Linked DNA regions of Homo sapiens: region 2 is linked to region 1. The links are contacts of gene promoters, found by promoter capture Hi-C in human tissues and cell types (Jung and others, 2019). All regions are on one chromosome and are shown on one strand. Each heading gives the region's core, a stretch centred on a gene start or on the middle of the fragment in contact. The rest is flanking DNA. Distances are from core to core; before and after follow the strand shown.

What was found. The method cuts DNA at HindIII sites, captures the fragments that hold promoters and counts their contacts. A contact is called where the count stands out against the background at its distance.
Region 2: a contact is called between a fragment that was not itself captured here and the fragment with the promoter of KIF14 in region 1, in 1 of the 25 tissues and cell types used here (lymphoblastoid cells).

The regions. Positions count from the first base shown.
Region 1 is chr1:200,615,846-200,623,628 of GRCh38, reverse strand. KIF14 (kinesin family member 14) reads left to right here and starts at 2,878. Exons shown (of 30, transcript NM_014875.3): 1 at 2,878-3,218; 2 at 4,791-6,017. The coding sequence starts at 4,906. RefSeq lists a silencer at 2,791-2,940 and an enhancer at 3,109-3,610. The HindIII fragment of the contact is 6,770 bases long and covers 271-7,040 here.
Region 2 is chr1:200,921,462-200,929,177 of GRCh38, reverse strand. It overlaps the pseudogene MROH3P. Among named protein-coding and RNA genes, the nearest start is that of INAVA, 30 kb to the right of the region's middle. The HindIII fragment of the contact is 7,391 bases long and covers 1,358-7,716 here.

The DNA of each region.
Region 1 (7,783 bases), core at 1,629-4,128:
GCGCCACTGCACTCTAGCCTGGGCGACAGAGCAAGACTCCGTCTCAAAATAATAATAATAATAATAATAAAAATAAAAAAAAGAAAATTAGAAGGAAAATACAAAATATGACAGATTTTAAAATACCTTTAGGTTCATGCAGTTTGTTTAACTCTTGTCCTTATTATAAAGCCATAGACATTTGAGATCCAGAAAGAATCTGTAAAAACTGTTGTACAGGGTAGTGGTACAGAGCACAGGAAATGGTGTTTAATTTCCTGAGTTCTGAACCTAACTCTGTGACCCAGTAGTTGTATAATGTCAGGCAAGCTATTTAACTCCTTGGAAACCCACTTTCCCTCATGTGTAAAACAGCGATAATCATAATACCTATCTTATAAGGTTATGGAGTTAGGTTATTTATCTTGCACAAAGAAAGGACTCAATCCTTGCTGGTTATGATGATTTAATCCAGCACTTTCGTTTCACAAGCGAGGGATCTACAGTAAGGAGACTTATCTCTGGTCTCACCATTAGGTTGAGACAGATCCTCAGCTAGAATCCAAAGTGCTCTTACCACTTTTCCACAACTTTTGCTTTGTCCTTTGCATTTTAAAATTATTAATTTCCTATTGCACCTTTTCGTTATAGACCCCAAGTGCAACTAGATACAAACACCAGGAAAATACATACCACATTTTAATAATTTAAAAATTGTGAAATTTGCTAAATTGTAATAGATTTAATCTTAGGCCGGGCGCAGTGGCTCACGCCTGTAATCCCAGCACTTTGGGGGGCTGAGGTAGGTGGATCACCTAAGGTCGAGAGTTCGAGACCAGCTTGACCAACATGGAGAAACCCCTTCTCTACTAAAAATACAAAATTAGCTGGGGTTGTGGTGCACGCCTGTAATCCCATCTACTCGGGAGGCTGAGGCAGGAGAATCGCTTGAACCTGGGAGACGGACGTTGCGGTGAGCCAAGATCAAGCCATTGCACTCCAGCCTGGGCAACTAGAGCGAAACTCCGTCTCAAAAAAAAAAAATTTAATCTTAAGAGATCATTAATTAGCATGAGTTAATCATTTTTCTTTAAATCTTACATAATCCAGAAAGCTTCAAACGTGCCAGTTTTACTTCGACTCTTTCCACGTTTTCTTTCTGTTTGTCTCCCTCTGGTGGATTTAAAAAAATACTTGCTTTATTCTATTTATGAGCTTATTTTCCTTTTAAAATTGAAAAAGGTCTTTATGTCTTCTGTCATGTTTAATATATATTTCCAGTTACATTTTATTTTTATTATTTTGAATTATACATATGTTTAAAATTTTTATGTATTTGAGTTTGTCTGTCTTTTCTTTGACATATCTTGCTTTGTTTCTAAATTGAATGATCATTTTCCCATAGATGTGATAACTTTTTTTTTTTTTTTTCTTGAGACGGAGTTTCTCTCTTGTCCCCCAGGCTGGAGTGCAATGGCGCGATCTCGGCTCACTGCAACCTCCGCCTACCCGGTTCACGTGATTCTCCTGCCTCAGCCTCCTGAGTAACGGGGATTACAGGGGCCCGCCACCACGGCTGCCTAATTTTTGTATTTTTAGGAGAGACGGGGTTTCACCATGTTAGCCAGGCTGGTTTTAAACTCCTGACTGCAAGTGATCCGCCTGCCTTGGTCTCCCAAAGTGCTAAGATTACAGGCGTGAGCCACCGCACCTGGCCCTGATAAATATTATATTCTATTTTCTGATAGTTTCCTTATACCTTAATTTTAATTGAGTTTTAGAATGATTTTTAGAGTAAGATTTAGAATGAGTACTTTATCATCTGTTTGGTTGGTCTATATAATTGGAGCTACTTATGGTCTCTATCTCAGTGAATACTTCTTCAATATCTCTGTACTTTTTGCCTGTTTAAAAAACATTGTTGCTTTACAATATCTATTTATCTAGTCTTTCTCATTTATTTGGTTATTTTTCAGAATGTATTTGTAATATTTTTTCAGATTTCAAAATCTTATGGGGGCTGGGCGGCGCAGTGGCTCACGCCTGGCAGCTTACAAGGTCAGGAATTCGAGACCAGCCTGGCCAATATGGTGAAACCCCGTCTCTACTAAAAATACAAAAATTAGCTGGGCGTGGTGGTGCGCGCCTGTAATCCCAGCTACTCCAGAGGCTGAGGCAGGAGAATCGCTTGAACCAGGGAGGCGGAGGTTGCAGGGGCCACTGCACTCCAGCCTGGGCTGCAGAGCGAGACTCCGTCTCAAAAAAGAAAAAAAAAATTAAAAAAAGGGAACTTTTACTGAAACGGAGTTACATTGTACGGCGGCAAGAACCTTCAAGTTCTAGTTATGCCACTGCTAATTGTCTGATCTTTCACAAGTTTAACTCTAAACCTCAGTTCCTCATCTGTAAACGAGGGATAACATTAATATTTATCTCACAAGATTTTCAGGACTGTTTAAAAATTCATATAAGACATTTAGCATATTTCCTACGTGAACGCCTTGCATAGGAAACACTAGAAAAGTTAATTATTATGATTAACTTGGGGGCAAATATCCATTTACAATGTGAAGTCTTCGATGTAATGGCTTCTTTTAGATTAAAGACCGACAAGAGTGTCACTGTCATGCTTTTCGTTTGACACCCACTTCAACGAGGGGCCCGCTGCGCCCGCGACCGCCGCCCCTTCCTCTGGTCGGATTTAAAGGGGGCCAAGCTCCACGCTTTAGCAGAACCCGAGGAGGGGAGGGAGCGTTGCCTGGGAGATGAGGGTGGGGCGAGTCCAGCATTCAGAGACGGCTACCGGAGCCCAACCACCGGCACTTCCGGGGGGCGGGTGGAAGCAAAGGCGCGGCACCCGACGCGACGCCCAGCAGCCAATCAGAAGGCGGGGCGCCCATTCAAATTGCGGCCTTCTGGGGAGCCGGCGCTGGAGGTGGTGAGTGGCGTGGGGACTGTGTCGAGGGGGTCCCCAAGGTGCCGGACCCTGCGGAGGGGCGAAGTTTCGGCACTGGGGAGGGCGTGCGGACGCTTTCCCTACAGGCGACCACTGCTCTGCGGGCGGGTGGTCTTAGCTCCAGTCCCCCATTCAGTTCCTCAGCATTCCAGGTCGGCGGCGAAGGGGTCCCCGAACGAAGGGCGCAAGGCAGCGTCTCTGCTGGGACCGGGAAGCCGGACTTCAGGGCCTCTCGGCCCGTGGGCTTCTCCCCGAGTCTCCCCGAGTCGGTTGGCATTAAGAGGTAATTCTTAGTCATAGCCCCTGGTAATGACTAGCAGAGAAAGAACAGAATCACCGGATGTTTTGGTTTGGATTGTGCTTATTTTCCTTGTATTCCTTCCAGTCCTCTTTAAAATCTGATGGCGAAACTCCTCAAACAGAAACCGTATTGATTTGTGCAAATCGCAAATGGTTTTTAGTTGCAAGAGAATTTCCAGAATCTTCTTTTTGCCTTTAAATTCATTTCATAACAGGAAAATTCTGTATTTTGAGTTGAAACGTTGATGGGAGATGCTTATAAGCTGACGAATTTTTTTTGTAATGACTGTTATTTATGTAAAAATTTAAAAGCCTCATTTAAAAATGAACTTCCATTAATTTGTTCCTCGCTAGCAATAATCTTTGCAATAGTTTGAACCAGTGTCATTTTACAGGTTAGAACCCGGCATGCAAATTTAAAGTCTTGTTTACATCCTTGTAAGGAGTTGGATACAAAGCTGACTAAAAGCCAGGTCTCTTAGCTGTCACTGCTGTTCCCTTTCTTTAAAACGTTAATACCTGATAGATATTGTTGCTGTATATTTACATACACCTCTGTCTAATTTGTTGTCTTACTGCTAAAGGGCAGGTTGTCTGTTTATCTAATCTTGCATGGTTTTTCTCAACACAATTAATTTACAGTACTTATCGTACTTACTGCCTGTGGTACTTGGGAATAATCTGCCTCGTGACACCAATCAATTCAATCTTCTCTATAGGCATTCCTGTATTCAACATACATGGGCCGGACGCGGTGGCTCACGCCTGTAATCCCAGCACTTTGGGAGGCCGAGGCGGGCGGATCACAAGGTCAAGATATCGAGACCATCCTGGCCAACATGGTGAAACCCCGTCTCTACTAAAAATACAAAAATTAGCTGGGCATGGTGGTGGGCGCCTGTAGTCCCAGCTACTTGGGAGGCTAAGGCAGGAGATTTGCTTGAATACAGGAGGAGGAGGTTGCAGCAAGCCAAGGTCGTGCCACTGCACTCCAGCCTGGTGACAGAGCAAGACTCCATCTCAAAAAAAATATTTTTATAAAAATAAAATAAAATAAACCTTCTTATGGAACATTGGCAAAAAAAAAAAATACGTGTAGCAGGTATTTATAAAAATACTTTGCTCCACACTCTGATTTAGGTGCTAGGGTTTCCTTTAGTCCTTCCCATTCCCCACACTGGAAGTACTTGAAAATCTATGTTGGCATGCACTTTTTACATCTTCTAAGTCACTTGACACATTTGGCCTGATATATGGCTTATCAGTATATTTCTTCTAGACTAAAGAAATGGGAATTGTATTCTTGTCTTTGAAGTCTACAGTATCTATCAGAGGGCCTGGCACTAATGGAAACTTAGTCAATATTTGTTGAATAATGATGGTAAGTTCTCTGAGAGACTTGCCTGAAGTTGCTTGGAAGCAGTATCTGAGCTGCAGATTGTGATCTATTGTAATGTATGCCTCTGGGAATTTACTTACACAATGGGATGTTCTCTCTATATTTTTAAAGCTTGTTTGTAGTCTGTGTGATCTAAATCTTTTTTTTTTCTTTTAGTTTAGCAGATACTTTCAGAAATGGATACATAAGAAATGGCTGGAAATCAAATGAATGTCCAAAGAAGAGCTTAGGGTCTTAGTAACATTCTTTTTTAAAATAACTGTCTGCCAAAATGTCATTACACAGTACTCATAATAGAAATAACAGCGGTGATATTCTTGATATTCCTTCTTCCCAAAATAGTTCATCACTGAATGCCCTCACCCACAGTAGCCGACTTAAGCTGCATTTGAAGTCGGATATGTCAGAATGTGAAAATGATGATCCATTATTGAGATCTGCAGGTAAAGTCAGAGACATAAATAGAACTTATGTTATTTCTGCCAGTAGAAAAACAGCAGACATGCCCCTTACCCCTAATCCTGTAGGTAGATTGGCACTTCAGAGGAGAACTACAAGGAACAAAGAATCATCTTTGCTTGTTAGTGAGTTGGAAGACACAACTGAAAAAACAGCAGAAACACGTCTTACATTACAACGTCGTGCTAAAACAGATTCTGCAGAAAAGTGGAAAACAGCTGAAATAGATTCTGTCAAAATGACACTGAATGTGGGAGGTGAAACAGAAAATAATGGTGTTTCTAAGGAAAGTAGAACAAATGTAAGGATTGTAAATAATGCTAAAAACTCTTTTGTTGCCTCTTCTGTACCTTTAGATGAAGATCCACAGGTCATTGAAATGATGGCTGATAAGAAATACAAAGAAACATTTTCTGCCCCCAGTAGAGCAAATGAAAATGTTGCACTTAAGTACTCAAGTAATAGACCACCCATTGCTTCCCTGAGTCAGACTGAAGTTGTTAGATCAGGACACTTGACAACGAAACCTACTCAGAGCAAGTTGGATATCAAAGTGTTGGGAACAGGAAACTTGTATCATAGAAGTATTGGGAAGGAAATTGCAAAAACTTCAAATAAATTTGGGAGCTTAGAAAAAAGAACACCTACAAAATGTACAACAGAACACAAACTGACAACAAAGTGCAGCCTGCCTCAGCTTAAGAGCCCAGCTCCATCAATACTGAAGAATAGAATGTCTAACCTTCAAGTTAAACAAAGACCAAAAAGTTCCTTTCTTGCAAATAAACAGGAAAGATCCGCAGAAAATACAATTCTTCCCGAAGAAGAAACTGTAGTTCAGAACACCTCTGCAGGAAAAGACCCCTTAAAAGTAGAGAATAGTCAAGTGACAGTGGCAGTACGCGTAAGACCTTTCACCAAGAGGTATGTGATGCCTTTTAAAATCTAAAGCCAAGCAGTTACATGTAAGGTACCTTTAATTCCTCTCTGCCTTTGGAAGGTCAGTGTATTCGTGCATCTTCAAACTTGTTGGCAATACTTTTATATAGAAAGAACTTTTAGGTCTAGTTGTAGTGTGTGTTGATAATTTTTGATCACTGACTATAAAATTAAAAAATTGAATCACCATATTTTGTATATTGAAGTTTCTCTAGATATATTGCTTTTAAAAAGTCTGAATAAGTCACTTAGGTCTCTAATGAAATCTGCTTTCAGATCTGCAATATATGCTGGAATGTTATACCTATCCCTTAAAAAGAGCCATAACAGGCCAGGTGTGGTGGGTCACGCCTGTAATCCCATTGCTTTGGGAGGTCAAGGCAGGCAGATCACTTGAGGCCAGGGGTTTGAGACCAGCCTGGCCAATATGGTGATACCCTGTCTCTACTAAAAATACAAAAATTAGCTGGGCATGGTGTTGCACACCTGTAATCCCAGCTACTCGGGAGGCTGAGGCAGGAGAATCACTTGAACCCGGGAGGCAGAGGCTGCATTGAGCTGACATCAGGCCACTGCACTCCAGCCTGGGCGACAGAACGAGACTGTCTCAAAAAAAAGAAGAGCCATAACAAATTACTGGTTCCCTAAAGAGGTCCTTTCAAAACCCTTTCCAGAGTGGTGATTATCATCATCATTGTCTCCGATTACTATATAGTAGTTATAAATGCAGTGATACATTAGATTTGATTTTGATGGCAAAAAATCTCTCTCTAAAAGTGGTTGTGGGTGGGGAAGACACAGATTAAAGATAAGGTTGGAAAAGATGGACATGACAAAATGTGAATGTGACAAAATGTAATTGTTTTAAAATATTTTAATGTAGTTGTTTAAAATATTTTAAGGGACAGTGAAAAACTTCACAGAGTTAGTAGTGTTTAACTTGAAGCTGTGTATCTAAGCAAGTTAGAAGAGGATTTGGTGACCACTGCATCAGGGCAGGAACCTCCAGTTTGAACCTAAGGGGTCAGTAGTTAAAGGCAAGTTATACAGTACTGTAGAATCTTTTTCGTGCAAATGGGTTAGTATTAAGAGGGAGAACTGAGGGTGAGTTGGTTTGAGAGAATTGGAATGTCTAATAGAGCCTCAAGAACCATGATAGGAAGAGAAACAATAGAAAGAGCTGGTAGGGACAAAATGCAAGATGGATGACTATACTGAACTTAGTAAGGGACCAAGTGCCTGATTCCAAACTCATCAGACAAGCCTTGAAAGCAGGGCCAGGGTAGAGTACTTGTCAAATTGATGAGGCAGGTGTTTTTTCCAGAATAAATTCTGATTTAAAGCAGTCTCAGAGTCAGGGATGGAGCGGGGAGGGAGTGTATATCTGGAGCCAGACAAAGAGTGATGATGTTTTTCTGTAGATCTAAAGTAAATGAAAGATTTCCACCTAAGTCTCAAAGGGAAAAAGGATATACAGAAAGATTCATGATTTTAAGGGAGAGAATCTAGAGGAAGGAGGAGAGATCTTTAGTAGCCAAGAGAGACTTATGATTGAAACTTACAGTCAACTGAGTTTGTTAAAATTAGATATTTGTATTTTATGCCAGCTTTATTTAGATTGGTACCCCCCCAAATTTGTATAATAAAGATGTAGATTTGGATGAAGAGTATAGGTAGATTATAGTAGGTGGGATGGGAAAAGGTATAGTTCAAGAGAAAAAAAAAAGAGGAAAAAATCTTGTAAAAGTAGG
Region 2 (7,716 bases), core at 3,804-6,303, 300 kb before region 1:
TCATCGTGTGCCTGACACAATGTGGGCATTCAGTGAATGGTGCTTATATGCTCTTGTTATTCATGGGTCCCCACGGCTGTAGCCCAGTGGCCACTCAGGCTCATGTTGCTTACTTCTCTGAAACACAAGGATTTTGAACAGGTAATGCAACGCCTCTGATGCCTCTATGCTGATCTCGTGGTTGCAGCCCATGACGAACAGGCCGAAGATGCTCATCAGTTTCCCACTCATTGAGAATTCCTCCATGTGCTGCCCAGAAGAGGAAACTGGTTAACTCCCCATCACCCCAAAAGGAAATTCCCCATACTGTGGCCACCATCCCTCTCCAACCTCCCCACCCCTCTACACCACTAAATCATTTGCCTGCAGGTATCCCCTCACCACACCAGCTCCACACTCTTTCCCTGCCCAAGAAAACCTTTCAAAGCAGCACCCAGGGAAATGGGGCAGCCAGATCCCTAAAATATGTTAGCCAGTGGGAAGCTGTGGACCCAACCCAGCTGTTTAGGCCAAGGTCCCCCAACAAGGCTGAGATGTGTCCAGCCAATTGAAACTCACTTGGCCAAGGGCAAACCAAGCAAACAAGTTAAGCCTCTTCCCCCATAGGAACAGAAAAGGCACTAATGCAAAAAAAGAGGGACACTCTGACCACCCACCCCCCAGTAACCCCCTGCAGAACCACAGACTCTCAGGTACCCCATGTGCAGAGAAGCAGGGCCCACTGGGTCAGCCTTTCCCCCCACTCCAAGCACTCACTGACAGTTCGGGAAAATTGCAAATAAACCTCAGCAGCCAGGAAATAGTGCCCAAGGCCCGCATCTGTTCATACACTTTGTCTGACAGTAATGACCAAGGTATGATGATCCGGAAAAGGAGTAAAGAGACCTTGTGAACCCCTTCTGTGGGAGTGCTGCTCCCTTCCTTCTCAATTCCACATCTCTGACTGCTAAAAAGACAAAAAGGAGGGAGTTGTGCCAGGCACCAGAGCACACGGCCCCATGAACTTGGCAAAGCAAAGGTGGGTTTAGGAGTCTCCGGGGCTATACAAAAAATTAGCTGGGTGTGGTGGTACATGCCTGTGGTCCCAGCTACTCGGGAGACTGAGGCAGCAGAATGGCTTGAACCTGGGAGGCGGAGGTTGCGGTGAGCTGAGATCGCACTACTGCGCTCCAGCCTGGGCAACAGAGTGAGATTCTGTCTCAAAAAAAAAAGTCTCCGGGGCTTCACCTGCTACCTTCTGGGTCTCTTCTGACAGGAATGTTTAAAGACAGTGCTGTGCCTTAGATGTAGAATTACAAAGCAGTGGGTAAGCAGGAATGGGATAAGATGGGGAGACAGGGCTCTCTTGGTGGCATATCCATGCAAACCCCTACCTGCTAGGCCAGGGGAAGGGGTAAAGTGGTCTCTGAAGGATGAGATTCAGAGCCATTCATTTCTGGAGGTTAATAATCATAGTGACACAGGTAAGTATTCTGAATAGAATAATGCACTCTATCCTCCCATAACAACACTTCCCTGTAAGTGTTATTATTACCACACTAGGTTGAGATCCCACCAGGGAAGACAGGCCTGTGTCCTGCTTGCTACAAACTTTTGGGAAAGTGTGTCCCGTATCATAGCTGCTGGACAGGTGTCCTTCAGGGTAGCCTTTCTCCCAGAGCATTGAACCCCATCATGGACATCCATGTGCCAAAAAAAGAAAAATGAACTACAACGTGTACCTGACCGTCCAATACACAAGTTAATTCAGAATTGACCACAGACTTAAAATCTAGAATGATAAGATTCTAGAAGAAAATGAGAAAATACTTAAGGGAGGCAAAAATTCCTATAACCATAAAAAAAAATAATGACTTGGACTTCATCAAAATGAATAACTACCTGCTCTTCAAAAGATACTGTTAAGAGTGGCCAGGGCTGGGTGCAGTGGCTCACGCCTGTAATCCCAACACTTTCGGCGGCTGAGGTGGGTGCGTCACCTGAGGTTAGGAGTTCAACACGATGTGGGCATTCAATGAATGCCCAGCCAATATGGTGAAATCCTGTCTCTGCTAAAAATACGAAAATTAGCTGGGTGTGGTGGCACATGCCTGTAATCCCTGTTATTCAGGAAGCTGAGGCAGGAGAATTGCTTGAACCGGGGAGGCAGAGGTTTAGTGAGCTGAGATCATGCCACTGCACTCCAGCCTGGGCGACAGAGTGAGACTCCGTCTCAAAAAAAAAAAAAAAAAAAAAAAAGACACTGTATAAAATCAGGCCACAAAATGGGAGAAAATGTCTGCAAATCACATATCTGACAAAATATTTATATCCAGAATATACAAAGAGCTCTCAAGGCTGGGCGTGGTGGCTCACACACTTGTAATACCAGCACTTTGGGAGGCCAAGGCAGGAGGATTGCTTGCACCCTGGAGCTCGAGACCAGTATGGGCAACATAGGGAGACCATAGCTCTACATAAACTTTTTCTTTTTTTTTTTTTTGAGACGGATTCTCGCTCTGTCGCCCAGGCTGGAGTGCAGTGGCATGATCTTGGCTCACCGCAACCTTCTCCCCCCAGGTTCAAGAGATTATCCTGCCTCAGCCACCTCAGTAGCTGGGATTACAGGCATATGCCACCACACCTGGCTAAGTTTTGTATTTTTAGTAGAGATGGGGTTCTGCCACATTGGCCAGGCTGATCTTGAACTCCTGACCTCAAGTGATCCACCCGCCTCAGCCTCTCAAAGTGCTGGGACTGCAGGCATGAGCCACTGTGCCTGGCCCATAACATTCAAAAATTAGTGGAGCATGGTGGCGCACACCTATGGTCCTAGCTACTCAGGAGCCTGAGGTGGGAAGGTCTCTCGGGGAGGTTCGAGGCTGCAGTGAGTAGTGATGGTGTCACTGCTCTCCAGCCTGGGCAACAGAGTGAGATTCTATCTCAAATAAAATAAAATAAAATAAAATAAAATAAAATAAAATAAAATAAAATAAAATAAAATAACCCTCAAACCCCCAAATAAGAAAACAACCCAATAAAAAAATGGGCAAAAGATTTAAATAGACGCTTCATCAAAGCAGATATGTAGATGGCAAATAAGACTATGAAAACGTGCCCAACATTAGTCACTAGGAAACGCAAGTTAAAACCACAAAGAGATACCACTACACATCTATAAGAATGACTAAAAGGAAACACTAGCAATACCACATGCTGGCAGGGATGCAGAGCAACTGGGACTCTTACACATTGCTAGTGGAAGTGGAAAATGGCCACTTGGGAAAACACTTTGGAAGTATCCCCCCTCCTTTTTTTTTTTTGAGAGGGAGTTTTGCTCTTGTTGCCCAGGCTAAGGTGCAATGGCGCAATCTCGGCTCACAGCAATCTCCGCCTCCTAGGTTCCAGCGATTCTCCTGCCTCAGCCTCCCAAATAGCTGGGATTACAGGCATGTGCCACCACGCCCGGCTAATTTTGTATTTTCAGTAGAGATGGGGTTTCTTCATGTTGGTCAGGCTGGTCTCAAACTCCCAACCTCAGGTGATCCACCCTCCTCGGCCTCCCCAAGGGCTGGGATTACAGGCGTGAGCCACCACGCTGGGCTGGGAAGTATCTTATAAAGTGAAACATCCACATGCCATAAAACACAGCAGTCCCACTCCAAGAAATTTACTCAAGTGAAATACAAACCTATGTTCATACAAAAGCCTGCACACAAAGATTTATAGAAGATTCATTTGTAATCATCCCAGTCTGGAAACAACCCCAAAGTTCCTCAACTGGAAAATTAATGCACAAACTGTGATCCATCTACTCAATTAAAAAATAAAAAGAAACAAAATACTGATACACATAACAACATGAATAAATCTCAAATGCATTATGCTAAATGAAAGAAGACAGACTCCAGAGACTGCCTACTGGATAATTCTACTTAGATGTCTTTTTTTTTTTTTTTTTTTTTTTTTTTGAGACAAGGTCTCCCTGTATATTGCCCAGGCTGGAGTGCAGTGGCACTGTCACAGCTTACTGCAGCCTCGACCTCCTGGGCTCAGGTGATCTTCCCACCTCAGCCTCCCAAGTAGCTGGGACCACAGGTACATACCACCACGCCTGGATAATTTTTTTATTATTTGTAGAGATGGGGGTCTCACTGTTGCCCAGGCTGGTCTTGATCTCCTGGGCTCAAGTGATCCTCCCAAAGTGCTGGAATTACAGGCATGAGCCACTGTACTCAGCCTTAGATAACATTTTAATTATTTTATTTATTTAGTTTTGAGATAGGGTCTCACTTTGTTCCCCAGGCTGGAGTACTCAGCCTTAGATAACATTTTTAATTATCTTAATTAATGAATTAATTATTTTCGAGACAGGGTCTAGCTTTGTTGCCCAGTCTGGAGTGCGGTAGCATGATCACAGCTCACTGCAGCCTCAACCTCTAGGCTTCAGGCGATCCCCTCACCACAGCCTCCCAAGTAGCTGAGACAACAGGCACACACCACATGCCCAGCTAATATATTTCTTTTATTTTTAGTAGAGATGGGGTCTCATATGTTGCCCAGGCTGGTCTCAAACTCCTTGGCTTAGGTGATCCCCCTACCTCGCCCTCCTGAAGTGCTGGGACTATAGGCATGAACCACTGCACCTAGATGACATTTTAGAAAAGGCAAAACTATAGGGACAGGAAACAAATCAGCCATTGCCAGGGATGGGGAATGGGGAAGGGGTTGACCATAGAGTCATGGGGGAATTGGGGGGGTGATAGAACTGTTCTATAGCTTAATTGTGGCTGTAGTTACAGGACTGCATGCATTTGTCAAAACCCACAGATCTACACACTAAAAGCTGAATTATACTATATGTAAATTATACCTTAATTTTAAAACGGAAAAAAAGAAGACAAAAGAAAAAGGAGGGCCCTTAAGAAAACCATATAGCCCTCAAATTCGACCTTTCTGATCCAGCTCTGCAAAGTCAAATGTGAAATAAATGATGTTGTATTATGCTATCATGTCATTTTGTAGGAAAAATATGTCTAAAATATATACACACTTGACTGAGAATTACCTCAAAGTAGCAAAAATACATTTTGTTCGCATAAAAATAACTTATTTTTATACTTTTAATTTTATTTATCAAGATAAATTGATTCCTCCACTATTTTATACAAAATGTTGGAACCTGTTTCAGGTGGTAATTTTGCAGGGCATCATTTATCTTTGGATAATGAGAACCCCAGTAATGGATCTCTTGAAGACTGTACCCTGACCAGGACCAAAGTTTTGCATCTCTGTTCCCCCACAGACTCCAAGAACAACAGAACATTTGTTCTTACATTTATAGCAAGGTTGCCTAAAAAGCACAAAAATCCTTCTCAACAAACATACCAGAGATGATACATTCCAAAAGAACTATGTCACTCATCCAAATGTGGACAAATTTCCCTCTAGCTAAAGCCCTTGTCAAGGTCTTTTTGGGTTTTTGGGGGGTTTTTTTTGAGACGGAGTTTCACTCTTGTTGCCCAGGCTGGAGTGCAATGGCCTGATCTCAGCTCACTGCAACCTCCTCTTCCTGGGTTCAAGAGATTCTCCTGCCTCAGCCTCCCGAGTAGCTGGGATTACAGGTGCCCACCACCACGCCCAGCTAATTTTTTTGTATTTTTAGTAGAGACGGGGTTTCACCATGTTGGCCAGGCTGGTCACAAACACCTGACCTCAAGTGATCCACCCGCCTCGGCCTCCCAAAGTGCTGGGATTACAGGCGTGAGCCACTGCACCTGGCCTTGTCAAGGTCTTTTTATAAGATGCCTGGGCAATCTTGTCTCCTTCTTTGTAGTCACACCTAATGCTTTATGCAAAATTTTATTACCGTAATTGATTACCATCGTGTTCATGAAAGTCGGTTTCAAGTGATTCTTGGCTGTTTCCCCAACTCAACTACCCTCAGGAGATAACAATTTGTCATAACTAAGAATATTTGAAACGCTCTGAAGCTCTAAAGACAGTTAAAGAAGTACAATGAGTCTCTGGTGGGGATTACATTAAGGGATATAAGAGTAGCCTGTGGTTAAGCACTGAGGTCTTCTTTATCACAGAGCAATGGCAGATGCTGCAAAAGGGGAAAATACTTTGAAGATTAAAGTCTGGCACAGATATAAATGTTATTACCATCGAAGCCCCAATATGTCCAAGTCCTGGGCAGAAATGGGTCCTCAGCTTAGTGGGCTATGTTTCCAAAACTGTGATCCTCAAAATGGTATTTCGTGGGAGATACAGAAATTTGTCTTCAAGTGATGTTTATGCATGCTGAGGCTTGAGAACCGATGGTCTTTGGACTAGAATGACACCTAGGCTATCCTGATATTCTTTTCCTTTCCTCCCAAACATACTAGAATTAATATGGACTTTCAGTTTCCTTGATTTCCACAGCCACTTACCTCCAGGAAGTTTTGTAGTATGAGCATGTTAGGGTTCATCCTGTCCATCACAAGAGCCTGCAACATGTTGTCTAAGGCCTGGACCCTCTGACAAGTGAAGAGACAGGGAGTGTCCAGAACAGACTGCCACAGTGCCAGCTCGGCTCCCTGGGGGCACTCCATCTCCTTGTCCCCTACCTCTGGAGGAAGGAAGTGGGGCCAGCCTGGCTCTGCCACCCCCGGCAGTCTCTCTCTCATGGCCAGCCACACTCTGATCTTCCTTGGTGCTGACTTTTCTTGGTCTCAATGAAGACTGGACCAGGTCCAGCCCAAATTGTGAGCCCATTGGTGAAATGTAGGCATTGGGCCATTCTCCCCAAGAAAGCCAGATCCCGTGGGACTCTCCGCATTAGATTCATTCCGCTAGGTCCAGGACACATCTATTTTTAAAACTACAAAGGCTGAGGTGGGAAGATAGCTTGAGCCCCGGAGGTTGAGGCTGCAGTGAGCTATGATTGCACCACTATACTCCAGCCTGGGCAACAGAGTGAGACCCCGTCTCAAAATTTAAAAATTAAAAATGAAATAAAAAATTAGAGGCCCCTGGGAAGATTTGGCAGTCTACTGGTCAGTTGCTCCACAGTATCTGTGGGTTTTATTATCAGACTGTCTCCTCCCGTGACTGAGGCTGCTGTGAGCCTTAGTGAACAAGGACATGGATAGGGTGGGAGCATGGGCCAATCCCTGGAAAGACAGGTGAGGGTACGACAGCTGGAGTGCTTCTTAGCAGCCCCAGGAACATGGGGCCAAGAGCTCTGCAGAGAGGTCAGAGCAGGAGAAAGGAGGGAGAGTTAAAGGGCAAGAGGTGACTCCAAAGACAAAACCTCCCCGTGGAGCTCTCCATGAAGAGGTGGGGATTACCTGGAGGTAGAGACTCGCATTGTCTCTTCGGTACAGGCTGGGCACGATAGGCGGCAGAGAGAACAGGCTGGAGACGCCCACATTTACCAGATCCAGTTTCTGGGACAAGTGGAATGGTGGATTCACCTGACTGCAGGGAGAGGCAGGGAATGACAAGCGGCTTTGGGGTCCCTGGGAGAGACTGGGACCCTCTGGGAGAATGTGCTCTGCTGCTGTTTCTGAGATGCAGGAAACAGTGGGGATCTGAGCCCCCAAACACTTTCTAATAGCCTCTCCTCCAGGGAAGGAGGGCCTGGGTTGCTAGGGAAGCTTCCCTCACTGGACGTCTTAATAGGCTTCCAAAAGTACAATTGGAGAACACCCCCTCCACCCAAGGATGCAGGCAGATAAAGTGGCAGAC